Linked DNA regions of Homo sapiens: regions 1 and 2 are each linked to region 3. Evidence: promoter capture Hi-C in 16 types of primary human blood cells and fetal thymus (Javierre and others, 2016). All regions are on one chromosome and are shown on one strand. Each heading gives the region's core, a stretch centred on a gene start or on the middle of the fragment in contact. The rest is flanking DNA. Distances are from core to core; before and after follow the strand shown.

The links. The method cuts DNA at HindIII sites, captures the fragments that hold promoters and counts their contacts. A CHiCAGO score of 5 or more calls a contact.
Region 1: a contact is called between a fragment that was not itself captured here and the fragment with the promoter of USP10 in region 3, in 1 of 17 cell types (neutrophils). The highest score is 5.8, in neutrophils.
Region 2: a contact is called between a fragment that was not itself captured here and the fragment with the promoter of USP10 in region 3, in 10 of 17 cell types (monocytes, neutrophils, non-activated CD4 T cells and 7 more). The highest score is 9.0, in monocytes.

What each region holds. Positions count from the first base shown.
Region 1 is chr16:84,992,738-84,996,912 of GRCh38, forward strand. ZDHHC7 (zDHHC palmitoyltransferase 7) reads right to left here. Exons shown (of 8, transcript NM_017740.3): 2 at 3,185-3,270. Among named protein-coding and RNA genes, the nearest start is that of ZDHHC7, 17 kb to the right of the region's middle. RefSeq lists an enhancer at 1,884-2,384. The HindIII fragment of the contact is 8,914 bases long and covers 1-4,175 here.
Region 2 is chr16:84,975,129-84,979,404 of GRCh38, forward strand. ZDHHC7 (zDHHC palmitoyltransferase 7) reads right to left here. Exons shown (of 8, transcript NM_017740.3): 5 at 4,061-4,157; 6 at 2,796-2,877; 7 at 1,967-2,097; 8 at 1-1,391. The coding sequence ends at 1,215. Among named protein-coding and RNA genes, the nearest start is that of ZDHHC7, 34 kb to the right of the region's middle. RefSeq lists an enhancer at 1,203-2,402. The HindIII fragment of the contact is 645 bases long and covers 1,960-2,604 here.
Region 3 is chr16:84,698,472-84,702,850 of GRCh38, forward strand. It overlaps USP10 (ubiquitin specific peptidase 10), which reads left to right and starts at 1,529. Exons shown (of 14, transcript NM_005153.3): 1 at 1,529-1,640. The coding sequence starts at 1,620. RefSeq lists silencers at 1,001-1,520, 1,611-1,830, 1,841-1,950, 1,991-2,100. The HindIII fragment of the contact is 5,859 bases long and covers 1-2,329 here.

The sequences.
Region 1 (4,175 bases), core at 225-2,724, 290 kb after region 3:
TGAAATGTGAATAAAGGAGTGTAGTAAGAATGTTCTCAGAGGTCAGGTCACTACAACTGAGTAACAGCACTGGGTGCTGTTTTTCAAATCTGGGTGTGACTTTTTCTTTTCTTAAATGCAACTGGAACATAGCAATTATGAAAACATTTGCCGAATGAACATGTGGTGAGGATTCATTCGCCAAATACTTTAAAAAATTTCCTCTCGATGCAAAAATGCTGACTGGTACAAGAGCAAAATGAAATTGTTTTCCAAAGTCAGTAAAATAGCCCTATTTTTCAATCAGATAAAAGCAGCTTTAAAAAATGTTTAAGGCTGGGTGCAGTGGCTCAAGTCAGCACTTGGGAGACTGAGGCAGAAGGATCATTTGAGCCCAGAAGTTTGAGATCAGCCTGGGCAACAGAGTAAGACCTCATCTCTACAGAAAATAAAAATTAACCAGGCATGGTGGCTTGCGCTTATAGTCCCCCCTACTAGGGAGGCTGAGGGGGGAAGATTGCTTGAGCCTGGGAGGTGGAGGCTGCAGTGAGCCATGATCATGCCACCGCGCTCCAGCCTGGATGACAGAGAGATCCTGTCTCAAAAAATAAAAATAAATAAATACATGCTTAAGGCTGAGTGTGGTGGCTTACACCTGTAATCTCAGCACTTTAGGAGGCCAAGGTGGGAGGATCTCTTGAGCCCAGGAGTTTGAGACTGGCCTGCGCAACATGGGAAGACCCAATCTCTACAAAACAAAATTGTTTTTTTTTTTTATAGTCAGGCATGGTGGCACACACCTATAGTCCCAGCTGTTTGGGGGACTGACGTGGAAGGATCGCATGAGACTGGCAGGTTGAGGCTACAGTGAGCCACAATCCCACCACTGCAGTCCAGCCTGGGCAACAGAGTAAGTAAGACCCAATGTCAAAAAAATTGTTTTAATTAAAAAAACTTTTAAAAATAATCATTTGAGTGAAATAGAAAAAACTAAAGATCAAAAGAATTTGGACAGACCCCTTAGCCAACCATTCCTTCAGCATTTTCTGAACCTACATCTTCTGCATCTGTCTGCTCAACATCCCCTGCAAACACCTTTGCAGCACCATTGCCTCTACATAAACCTCATTCACCCTGCAGGGCCTAACTTTTCTCTCTTCTAGGCAAGCCAACCTGAAAAGGGAGTTCTCTTCTTCTGAGGAGCACTTTGCGAAGAGGTCTCTAGACATCAGATGTGACTATCCGGAGATAAAGGCTGAAACTGCTTCTGCCTGCACTACTAGTAAAGCCTGACTGTCAGGGGGCTGAGAAAGTACCTGGAAGTTTCTCTGCCTCCGCTGAAGCCCTGGGCACGCTCACCAGCTCTCCCTCCCAGGTACTTACCACTTGCTACCTGAGAGCTCTTGCAGGTCCGACCTCCCGGCCTGATGTCAGCCCCTCCAGGGGGGTCTGGGTCTCCTCCTGCCCTGTCCCCCTCATGCCTTGCATGCTGTCTGGCGCACAGCAAGGGCATGTTTGCTAAAAGGCAGATGCAACAAAAAGCAAGCAGTCCCTCTCTCAGATTCCAATCACCTCCTGCTGATTTCCATCTAAGTTTCTTGGTGAATCGTTATCTGTGGGCCCAGGTACATCAAGGCCGTAAGCTGAAAAATTCCTCTGAGCAGAACCATTTTGCTTTATGGTGACTTCTCTAATAGGACACGTTCCATGAGAAAAGGAAGGGTGCTTTCCAGGCAGTAAAACAAGCTATACTTTTGTCAGAGCACAATGTTTGGGCAGTCTGAGCTCTCTCCAGAAAGCAGGGCCTCTTGAAAGTCTTCTAAAGGCACACATGTGACACCTGAGCCAGCTCAGCTCCGCCTTCCTGGTTCAGGTCCTGGTAAGACCTCCACGGAGTGCAGGATGCTGCTGTGGCTCCATGCCTGACCTGGGGGTGCGGATGGCAGGCACAGCTGTGTAAGGAGAGCGCCCACAGACACCAAACACTGGCCATGGCAGGACGTTCCTATAAGCACATATTAGGGTGACATATCATACTTGAGGGCTTTAGTGCCATATCTGTAAGATCCATTAGAAGTCAACAGGAAAATAACATGAAATCCAAAAACTGCTTTATTTTCAACAAAGCAACAAACGAATATAGCAAAGTTAGGCTGGACAAATACAGCTCTCAGTAACACAGTGCACTCACTCGTGTCTCTGAGTCACTGTATTTACACTTGAGTAATGCAACAGGAAGGGAGGGGAAGAAATGAAGAAACCATTCCTTTACATGGAAGCTAATCTAAAAGCAAACAGCACAGCCATTTGAGATGCGGTATTAAAATGTACACATTCCTTAGGAGCAAGGGCACAGCCTTATTCTGCACTGAATTCCAAAACCACCGTTGACTTCATACTCAAGACAGTTTCTGAGGGAACCGTGAAACACTGGGCACTCTCACACAGATGCCCCAGCATCACTCTTCTACCCTAATGGCCGATTTAATGGGATTTTCTCAACACTCCCGAACCTAAGCTCTTTCTCGGCATGTTAAATAAAGCCCTGTTTCCCAGAACACCAAAAGCAACACTACAAATCTCCATATTTAAAGGGACAACCACACAAGCAAAAACTTTCCGTTTCAGGCCGGGCACAGTGGCTCACGCCTGTAATCCCAGCACTTTGGGAGGCCAAGGCGAGTGGATCACTTGTGGTCAGGAGTTCAAGACCAGCCTGGCCAACATGGTGAAACCCCGTCTCTACCAAAAATATAAAAATTAGCCGGGCATGATGGCGGGTGCCTGTAATCCCAGCTACTAGGGAGGCTGAGGCAGAAGAATCACTTGAACCTGGGAGACAGAGGTCGCAGAGAGCCAAGATCACGCCATTGCACTCTAGCCTAGGCAACAGACTGAGACTCCATCTCAAAAAAAACAGACAAAAAAAACCAAACCACTTTCCATTTCAGGTGGAAAGCGGGGTATTCCCCTCATCTTGTGATACTGGCCAAGAACTCATCAATTCAATTCATGGAGTCCCCTCCACAGATACACCCTCCTTTTAGGACCGGAAGGCAGCGGGTGAAAAGGAAGGCGTGCCTGTCAGCTTGGCACCACGCCTCTGCTTTGCCACATGCACAGGTTACCTTTTTAGTAATATACAAGCTAGTGTCAGCTGTGAGAAAGGAAACAGTGATTGGACCCTAAATAATCACACTCTTACCTCACAAGTTATTTCTAAACATCACTTGAACATTTTGTGCCGTTTCTTCAGGATCTTAAGGTGCATACTGTCCTATGTGATCGGATCTGAAAGGTAATAAAATCTGATTAGAAAAAGTGATTTATTTTATGACAGACGTGTGTCATATTTCTTAGGGTATGATTAATTTTTGGAGCGTAACATTTGACGCATCAAGTTCTGTCACTCAGAACTATCCTTAAGTATGAAATCATTGCTCTTCTAAGTTTTGATTACTAGGTAAATTCACAATCCTGGAAATCAAGTAATTTATTTTAAATATTTCCATTTACCCTCCTGCTCTTTTAGCCCCAGTGTTAAATACAGATCTATAAGCTAAAATCCCTCCAGAAAAATCCCCTAGGGCAGACCAAATCTGGGTAGCCTGCACTTCTACCGTCGATAAGCTGATTTACTGGCCACATTAAAGGAATCACAGAACAGAGAGACAGAGCACTTGAGGCAGGAGGGGTGGACTAGAATGGCAGGCCCTGCTGTGGGAGGGGCGAGGAGGTGAAGGAAGACAGTGGAACCCAGTGAGGGCCACTCAATGAGAGCAGAGACTCCTGGCACGCATCTCCCACGTAGCTCCCCGAACCCTGACAGATGGGAGGGTCGAGGAATCCTCTCTGGCACTAACATGACCCAAGAAAAAGGTCTAAAGACTCTGCGATGTAGGGAAAACCCAACAAGAAGGTCAGATTCACTGTCAGACCTCCCTAAGTCAGGGGCCACAGGGAAACCCCCGCCACGGACACAGAGGTTCCAAGTGCTTGTCGTAGCTCCATTATAAAAAAAGAAAGTCCAGGCCAGGCGCGGTGGCTCACGCCTGTAATCCCAGCACTTTGGGAGGCTGAGGCGGGTGGATCATGAGGTCAGAAGTTCAAGACCAGCCTGGCCAAGATGGTGAAACCCCGTCGCTACTAAAAATACAAAAATTAGCTGGACGTGGTGGTGGGCGCTTGTAATCCCA
Region 2 (4,276 bases), core at 1,032-3,531, 280 kb after region 3:
CCAAGGATCCTATTTTATCACCTGTGCCGTGGGTGGAGAAGAAAACGTAAAAGCTAACCAAAAACTCCAACAAGAGGGCGCCATCCTGGCCATTCCCGACTGGAGCGCTGCCTGCGGTGGCACAGTCGCCCCTGCCAGGGGCTGGCTGCCTCATGGTCCCCTCCCCTTCCCAGAGGTGCCCAATGGCTGGGCCCTGCCTCTCCAGTAAGGATGCCTCCCCTGCCCCACACACAGCATCGGGCTGCCCCAAGTATCAAGTCACCGAGCCGCAGCTCTGCTCTTACCTAGGTGCCATTTATACACTGCTAATTTGGCTGGAACAAAAAAAAAAAATCAGTTCCAAGGCCCTCAAGCACTCAAGATTTCTTTAAAAAATGAAAGCAGGAGGGCAACGAAGGGCCGCACAGGAACGGCTGTTCTTTGGATCGAGATGTCCTCCAACAGCAATACATTCATAGTAACCACGGGCAGGACCCCGCGGCTCTCTCCCCTCTTCCCTGAAACGTCGGTTTCTAAAAAATAGCTTGTTTGCTGTACACAGCCGGTAAATGTTACATTGCCTAAACAACACTGGCAATTTTGACACACATGCACACACGCGCGCACACGCACAGACACGCACACACACAGACTTGCTGAGAGGGTCAAAGGATGTCTCTTCCGGGGCAGCGGGGAGTGTGCCGGAAGCCACCTTCACTGTTCAGTGCACAGATCTTTTGCAACTTCAGTGCAAAGCATCGGAGCTAATCGAGACCAAAACGTCTTTCTATGTAAACGCCCTGCTGTGATCCGGGGAGTGCACTGCTGAGTGGCGGGGTCAGCAGGAGCCCCCTGAAATGACTGCTTGGAGAATCCCTGTTCACTGGATTCACTGTTTTTCTTCATGATTGGAAACAGCAGCTCAGGACCCAGGATTTGAATAACCCATGTAATAACCCGAAGTATTCTCCACAGAAGCCCCAGCTCTGCAGGAGGCCACGGCGTTTGGCTTCTTCGTGTGGCCACACACCTTTCCGTTGTTGTACAGGTGGGGACTGAGAGCCTCTTCCTCTGCCATCTGTGACTATAAATATATAAAACTCTGCTTGCTGCAAGCAATTGGTTTGTGTAGGTTCCAGTTGCCCTGTTGGTCACAGATGAGCTGTTGATATCCTTCAGACCCCAAATAAATAACTGGAAGTCTGTGAGCAAGTTTCAGTCTGATGAGCCACGCCTCACACTGAGAACTCCGGGCCACCTTTTCTGGGTCTCGTGGGCAGTCGCCTAAATCGGAAGCCCACAAAGGGATTCATCCAGAGGAGTGAGGGGGGCCCCCCAAAGACGGACTTCATCCCTTCCCATCGCAGCCTCCGCTCCCATGTGGGCTTCTCACTTTTCAATCGCTCGATCTCCTGGAAGCAGAAAGAAAAGCAAGTGGCAGCGGCTCCAGGAAGCTCGGCAGACCCCACCAAGCCTCAGAATCACACCGTGCTCAAGCACAGTGTGGGCTCGATGGAGGGTAGGTGAGTGAACTCTCCTTCCCAGCTCTGCCCCGATCCAGACCCCGTGGCCTCTGTGAGCCCAGCCCGGCTGCAGCCACGTGGCCAGCCCAGACTACCACAATGGCCCTCCCAGCCAGGCACCAACATTTGTCGCTCGTTAGTTACTGTGTACAGACATTTACTGAGCGCCACTCCAGGCCTGCAGAGCCAGGCCCTAAAGGCAGTCAGTTCCCTGAAATTTACTGACTGCACTGGGAGCTGGGAATCTGCCTGGCTCTGCTGACTTGCAAATCAAACTGAGACTAGAAATATGCACTGCCCAGAATGAAAGAAACAGCAAACACAGGGAGCTGGTTGCAGCTCATCAAGACCGTCCCATTACGTTCCCGAGTCAGTCCACAGGCACCTATTGTTGACATTAGGACTTTTCATTTACTCAAGCTTGGACCACATATGAAGTCCACACAGCCGAGAACAAAGCTTACCGTCTCGTCGTTGCATATGGAGTGGATTTGGGTGCCAAACATAACTGCAGTGAAAGTGAAAAACAGAAGACCCTCAAGGCACAGGAAGATCAACAGGATTACAGTTATCGGAGGTGAAAAATCACTGCATTCTGCGGACAAGAGGAAGTTGGTTATAACTGGTCCTGAATACCCCGAGTGGCAGAATGTTTGGCTCAGAGAAGAATCCTCTAGGGCCAGCCCCTGGCCAGCTTCCAGGGGGAAGTTGTTCACTTTCTAAATGGGCACATTCATTGTTCTCCAAGGAGCAGAGGAGGGCCACCCTTCCAAGCAAAAATTCATACCATGACTTCCTGGCCAGTGGTTTCAAAAGAGTCTGTATTTTCTGAGGTTTCTATTGACACTGTATTTATGAATTAAATGGCAAATGAAGCCAGACCAGAAGAGTTGTGTGCACCCATACCAGTGAGCAGTGCTCACAGGAGTCTGTTCACCATGTTCCCCTGGGGTGGGATGAGCCTGTCCAGACCTCACTGCATATCTAAGGTAGGATAACGAGCACCTATTTTCACTACACTTGCTTAGGGTCGGTCACTCACGTAAGCAACGTGAAGCCTGCTTTGAACAATGGCGAGCTAGCTGACCAGCAGACAGACACAAGCTTTTGGGGCAACAATATACTAGTAAAATGGTGGTGTTAAAACTTAACTAAATTCTTTAAAATTCAATTGCTAAAATAATTGCAATGATTTCCTTCAAAATTGGAAAACTGGTTCTTCCTTTAAAGCTTTCCCCTTTCATCCAATAACAGCATGCAAAGCCAGGAATGACACATAGCCAGGGAACTTACCAGTCCACTGCCCTCGGACACAGGAGATGAACTGAAATCCACAAAGGATCAGAGCATGGACTGAAGACAGAGCTATATACATCTAGAATGAGGGGGAGATTGGTTAGTCACTTTTATTTTTTATTTTTTTTAGAAACAGAGTCTCCCTCTGTTGTCCAGGCTGGAATGCAGCGGCGTAGTCTCAGCTCACTGCAACCTCCGCCTGCCAGACTCAAGCGATTCTCCTGCCTCAGCCTCTCAAGTAGCTGAGACTACAAGCACCATGCCCGGCTAACTGTTTTGCATTTTTAGTAGAGATGGGGTTTCACCATGTTGGCCAGGCTGGTCTGTAACTGCTGACCTCTAGTGATCCACCCAGCCAGTTAGTAACTTAAACAAGTCTTTCTAAGAGCAAAGGCTGATGACACATCATGTGTATACCTCCATCTTGTCAGAGAAAAAAATGAGGGAAGGATTAAATGGCAGCAGTTGACATTTTCCTACCCAAGATCATATTAGACCAAGTAGAATAATTTTATAGAAAAATATAGCTGGGCATGGTGGCTCACGCCTGTAATCCCAGCACTTTGGGAGGCCAAGACGGGCAGATGGCTTGAGCTCAGGAGTTTAAGACCAGCCTGGGCAACACAGCAAAACCCCGTCTATAAAAAAATAAACGGCCGGGCACGGTGGCTCACGACTGTAATCCTAGCACTTTGGGAGGCCGAGGTGGGCGGATCGCCTGAGGTCGGGAGTTCAAGACCAGCCCAACCAATATGGAGAAACCCCATCTCTACGAAAAATACAAAATTAGCCAGGCGTGGTGGTACATGCCTGTAATCTCAGCTACTTGGGAGGCTGAAGCAAGAGAATCACTTGAACTTGGGAGGCGGAGGTTGCAGTGAGCTGAGATCACACCACTGCACTCCAGCCTGGGCAACAAGAGCAAAACTCCATCTCAAAAAAAAAAAAAAGAAAAAAAGAAAAGAAAAAGGAAATAAACTCTAACATACTTTAGGAAGATTCCTGTTATTATTAATAAACAATAGCGATTGAGGACATCTGGGAGAGAATTAAATTACAGTGAACACCTAAAATAATACAAGCAACATATTACTTATTGGGACTACTTCCTGCCAATGACAGCACAGTATTATAATTTGAATCCTGGAGAAAAGGCTGGAGAGAAACTGGCCTGACGTTAGTAGATTTCTCTGCTCCAGGCAAGAAGCAGTTAAAGAATTTCAAATTCAATGTAAATTCAATACAAAAATATTTTTACTTACAGTGAAGAGCACAAAAAATCTTTGATTCTTTTCTCCTACACAATTGTTCACCCACGGGCAGTGATGATCCATTTTCCGAATACATCTTTTGCAAATACTGAAAAGGAGAGTTTGATTTTTCAGTATTCCATGCTCTGAGGAAACCAGAGTAACACAACCAAATAAAATCAAAGGTGGAGGAAAATTAGAATGTATATTCTAATACAACATGTCAAA
Region 3 (4,379 bases), core at 279-2,778:
TTAAAAGACATATCAGGATCCAAGCAAGATGACACATTGTATTTGGTTATGTTTTCTAGCTCTTCTATTTTGGAACAACCCCTCCCTACCACTTATATTTTTCTTTTCTTTTCTTTCTTTCTTTCTTTCTTTTTTTTTTTTTGAGACAGAGACTCGCTCTGTCACCCAGGCTGGAGTGCAGTGGCACGATCTCGGCTCACCGCAACCTCCGTCTCCGGGGTTCAAGTGATCCTCCCACCTCAGCCTCCTGAGTAGCTGGGACGCCTGGTGTGCCACACTACATCCCACCAATTTTTGTATTTTTAGTAGAGTTGGGGTTTCATCATATTAGCCAGGCTGGTCTCCAACTCCTGACTTCAAGTGATCCGCCCGCCTCGGCCTCCCAATGTGTGGGATTCCGGGTGTGAGCCGCTGCGCCTGGCCCACTTATATTTTTCATGGCATCCCATTTATGAAGAGACCAGGCTCCCTATTTTATGTAACGTGGGAATGGATCTTCCTGTTCATCTCCTCTGCTCAGTGTACGGTCTAGCAAGAGCAGACTCTCTGTAGGTGTTTGTTGAATAAATGAAACCAATAGTAATGGTTATTAATAACAATCCCAGTAGCCAATTTTTATTGACTATTCTCTTGGCCAGTGTGCTCACGTTAATCTAATTTGAACCTCACAGAAATCTTACGCGTTATGACATATTTGTCTTATTCACAGGTGAGGAAACCAAGGCTTAGGGAAGGAAAGTCGCTTGTCTGAAATCACAGCTAGAAAAGGGGCCAAAACCCAAGGGTGGACCCACTGGCTGGAAAACAGTGCAGTTAGGCAGGGGCCCCTGTTTCTTAATAATGAATGAACCAACGACCCCCAAGGCTGGTTTGCCCGTGCACACGCACGCACGTGTGCAACACGTAGCACTTGCTGAGTGTTTGCTACTTGCCAGGCCTCATGTCAAGCACTTTACGCGTGCTTTTATGCCCTACGTTTTGTTTTTGTCTGTTTTGCTTTTTTCCCCTAATGCCTAGCCAAAGGCGTGGCCCAGGCGCCCAGGCAGGACTTGGGGAGTGAATGAAGAGTGAACAAATGAATGAATGCGCGGCAACGGGATCTTCATAAACCAGACCCTCCTCGGGGATCTAATGCGAACACTCCCGAGGCCCGGGCCCAGGTACGCTGAGGGCGGCTCGTGGGCCCCAGGCCGACCTCAGCCCGCGACTCCCGGGCTCCGGGGGCCCAGGTGGCCCCCAGTAGGTGAGGAGCCGGGCCCGCCGGCGCCTTGGCGTTGCCACCTCTACCTGCCTGCCCTCTCCCCTTCCGGATCCACAGCCAGGCCTCGGCGGGCTCCTGGTGTGCAGCCGCCCGGCCGCTTCCGCCCGAGGGTCGCGGGGCTCAGAGTCCGGCAGGCTCCAGGCGGGGCAGGGGATGTCCGCGGCCCGGCAGGCGCACGCCCACCTGTCGGCCGCGCAGGCGCAGCAGCGGGCCGGCCTCCCCGCGCCCCGCGGCGCGCGGCCAGTGCGCAGGCGCGGCGGCCGATGCGAGTGTGTATGTGCGGGCGAGAAGATGGCGGCGGCGGGGGAAGCAGCGTGAGCAGCCGGAGGATCGCGGAGTCCCAATGAAACGGGCAGCCATGGCCCTCCACAGCCCGCAGGTAGCCGCCGGTCTGCGCCTTCGGCCGGAAGGGGCCCGAGCCCCGGGCGGGCGGACGCCGCGGCGGGCGGGCGTCCGCGCCCTGCCCGGAGCGAGCGTGTGGGAGTGGGGGAGGGCGCTGGGACACGCTGCCCGGGCCTAGGCCGGAGCCACCCGCCGCCTCCGCGCCCGCCGCGCCTTCGTCCCCTGAGCCACCCGGACCCCCTAGTCCCGGGGAGGTCGAAGGGCGGGGGCTCCGGGCCCCGCTTGGGGAGGGCGTGGAGGGCGCCGAAGGGGTTAACCTCCCTGGGGCTGGACCGCGGGGCGAGCCCGGGGTGTGGAGTGGGGCCCTCCCCGCCGCGCCGGCCGGGGGAGGCGGCCCGGGGGCTCCGGGAGTCCCCTGGAGCGCAGGGGCCCCAGAGCAGCTCAGGTTGCTGCCTCTGCCTGGAGCGAGCCTCAGAGATTTGGGGGTGCCCTGTTGCCCCTTTGCCCCAAGAGCTTCCTTTCTCAGCTTGATTGATGATGCGGGGGTTGCCGATTTTCTGTTTTTTAGATAGAAGTAGCAGAGTAGCGGCCTTGGGCTGCTGTTGCAAAGAAAACTCGAAATAAGTCGCAAGGACCGTACTTTCACTTGCGTTTGAGTGACATCCCTTGCACGAATCCATCCCAGCCAGGCTGACAACTAACGCACCCTGCCTGAACAGTAGCTAAAGCTTGGGGGCCCTTTACAATAATCCCGTGGTGGAAAGAAAGAGCTCTTTTTGGGAGATGTGCGTGTAGAGTTAAGCTCTTATTCCCCTCTCCCACCCCTTCTCTCACATCTTCTCCCCCCTCCGCCATTATAATTATTCTGGACAAAAATCGGCATGATGTATTATTTGTCAGCCTTGCTTTAGACTGCTAATTTGTTGACATCTGGTCCCTATAAATTGTTGCACACTTTTAAACCATCTCATTGTGTATTTGTATTAAATATGGGGAAATGAAACAAAGTAGCCATTCGGGAAACTGATTGCGAGTAAAATCATAACCCTTCATGAGCAATTGGGTTTTGTTGCCCTTCTGCAGATGAAGTCAATCTGACTACACCTCTTTTGAAACATGATTTTCGGAACTATTGTAATGAATGCGTGTTGTGGAATCTAAAATGCGAAAACTTTTTAAAAAATTAGATCTTACGACAAGCTTCAATTTTGTTAAATTAGCTGTAGTTTAGTTTGCATCAGAATTTCCCCCTTTAACGTTTTGTTCCCTTATTCATTTACTTTTGTAAGTAGTGTAGGTCTTTGCGCCAAAAAAGGGATCAGTAGTTGAATAATTTTTACAAATGTATAGCCCAAAGATTTTAAGAGATTTGGTGTATTTAGCTTTGTTTAGACCTTTCTGTTAAAAAAAAAGATTTGATATTTGCTTTTTTCTCAACTTAAATCCTAATTAACTAGCTTATTAGAATTGGTATGAACAAGTAAAAGGCTCATTATGAATTAATGTGTAATATTCCTTGTGATTTTGACATGAAGAAAGCATCTTTAGGCATAGCTCACTTCCTTTATTTAATAAGCATCAATCACAATTCAAGGTTGATTGAAATGTTAATTAATGGGGATGGATAATATGTAAACTTAATTGTAATTTCGTTTGCATTCATTGTCCCAGTATTTACGTTTTATACAACAGTCTAAAGCGTTATACACATCTTTAGAAAATTGGAGTAGCAAAAGTTGGCGGAACGTAAATGTTAGCAACACTTTGGGTTTATTCTTTTAAAGTATGATTTAAATGCTTTTAAGTTTTAGCATGGAGAAAGTAGCAAAGGAAATAGTTTGATTTCTCATAATTTTCTTCTTCTTTTTTTTTTTTTTTTTGAGTTGGAATTTGGCTCTTGTTGCCCAGGCTGGAGTGCTGTGGTTATTAACCTATAAACTTTTTTATTTATTTTGAGATGGAGTTTCGCTCTTTTTTTTTTTTTTTTTTTTTTTTTTTTGAGACGGGAGTCTTGCTCTGTCGCCCAGGCTGGAGTGCAGTGGCATGATCTCGGCCCACTGCAACCTCTGCCTCCCGGGTTCAAGCGATTCTCCTGCCTCAGCCTCCCAAGTAGCTGGGATTACAGGCGCCCACCACCATGCCTGGCTAATTTTTTGTATTTTTATTAAAGACGGGTTTCACCATGTTGATCAGGCTGGTCTCAAACTCCTGAGCTCAGGTGATCCACCCGCCTCGGCCTCTCAAAGTGCTGGGATTATAGGCGTGAGCCACTACTGCGCCTGGCCGATTTCTCATAATTTTCATTTTAAAAGAATAGTAATGCAAACAAGTAATGGAATCATGTATGACAGGATTTAGTTACTGGTTCCTGCTCCAGTCATTCTGAGCGTTTTAATAAATTTGTTTTACTTGGTTGCCTACTGTCCTAAGAGTCTTGCAGCCTTAATGGCCATTCATTCATTCAGCAAATACTGATTGTTTATCAGATATTAAGCGTCATGGTATGTATATTACTTGTTTATGTTGGGAATAACAACTGCAAATTGAAGGTCTTATTTTAAAATTGACTTGTTAAAGTTAAATTTGTCACTGAGAATAATGGGAGGTGGAAAAAGTTACAGTTTAAAAATGTTTACAGGCCAGCGCGGTGGCTCGTGCCTGTAATCCCAGCACTTTGGGAGGCGCAGGTGGGTGGATCACTTGAGGTCAGGGGTTCGAGATCAGCCTGACCAATATAGTGAGACCCTGTCTCTACTAAAAATACAAAAATTAGCCG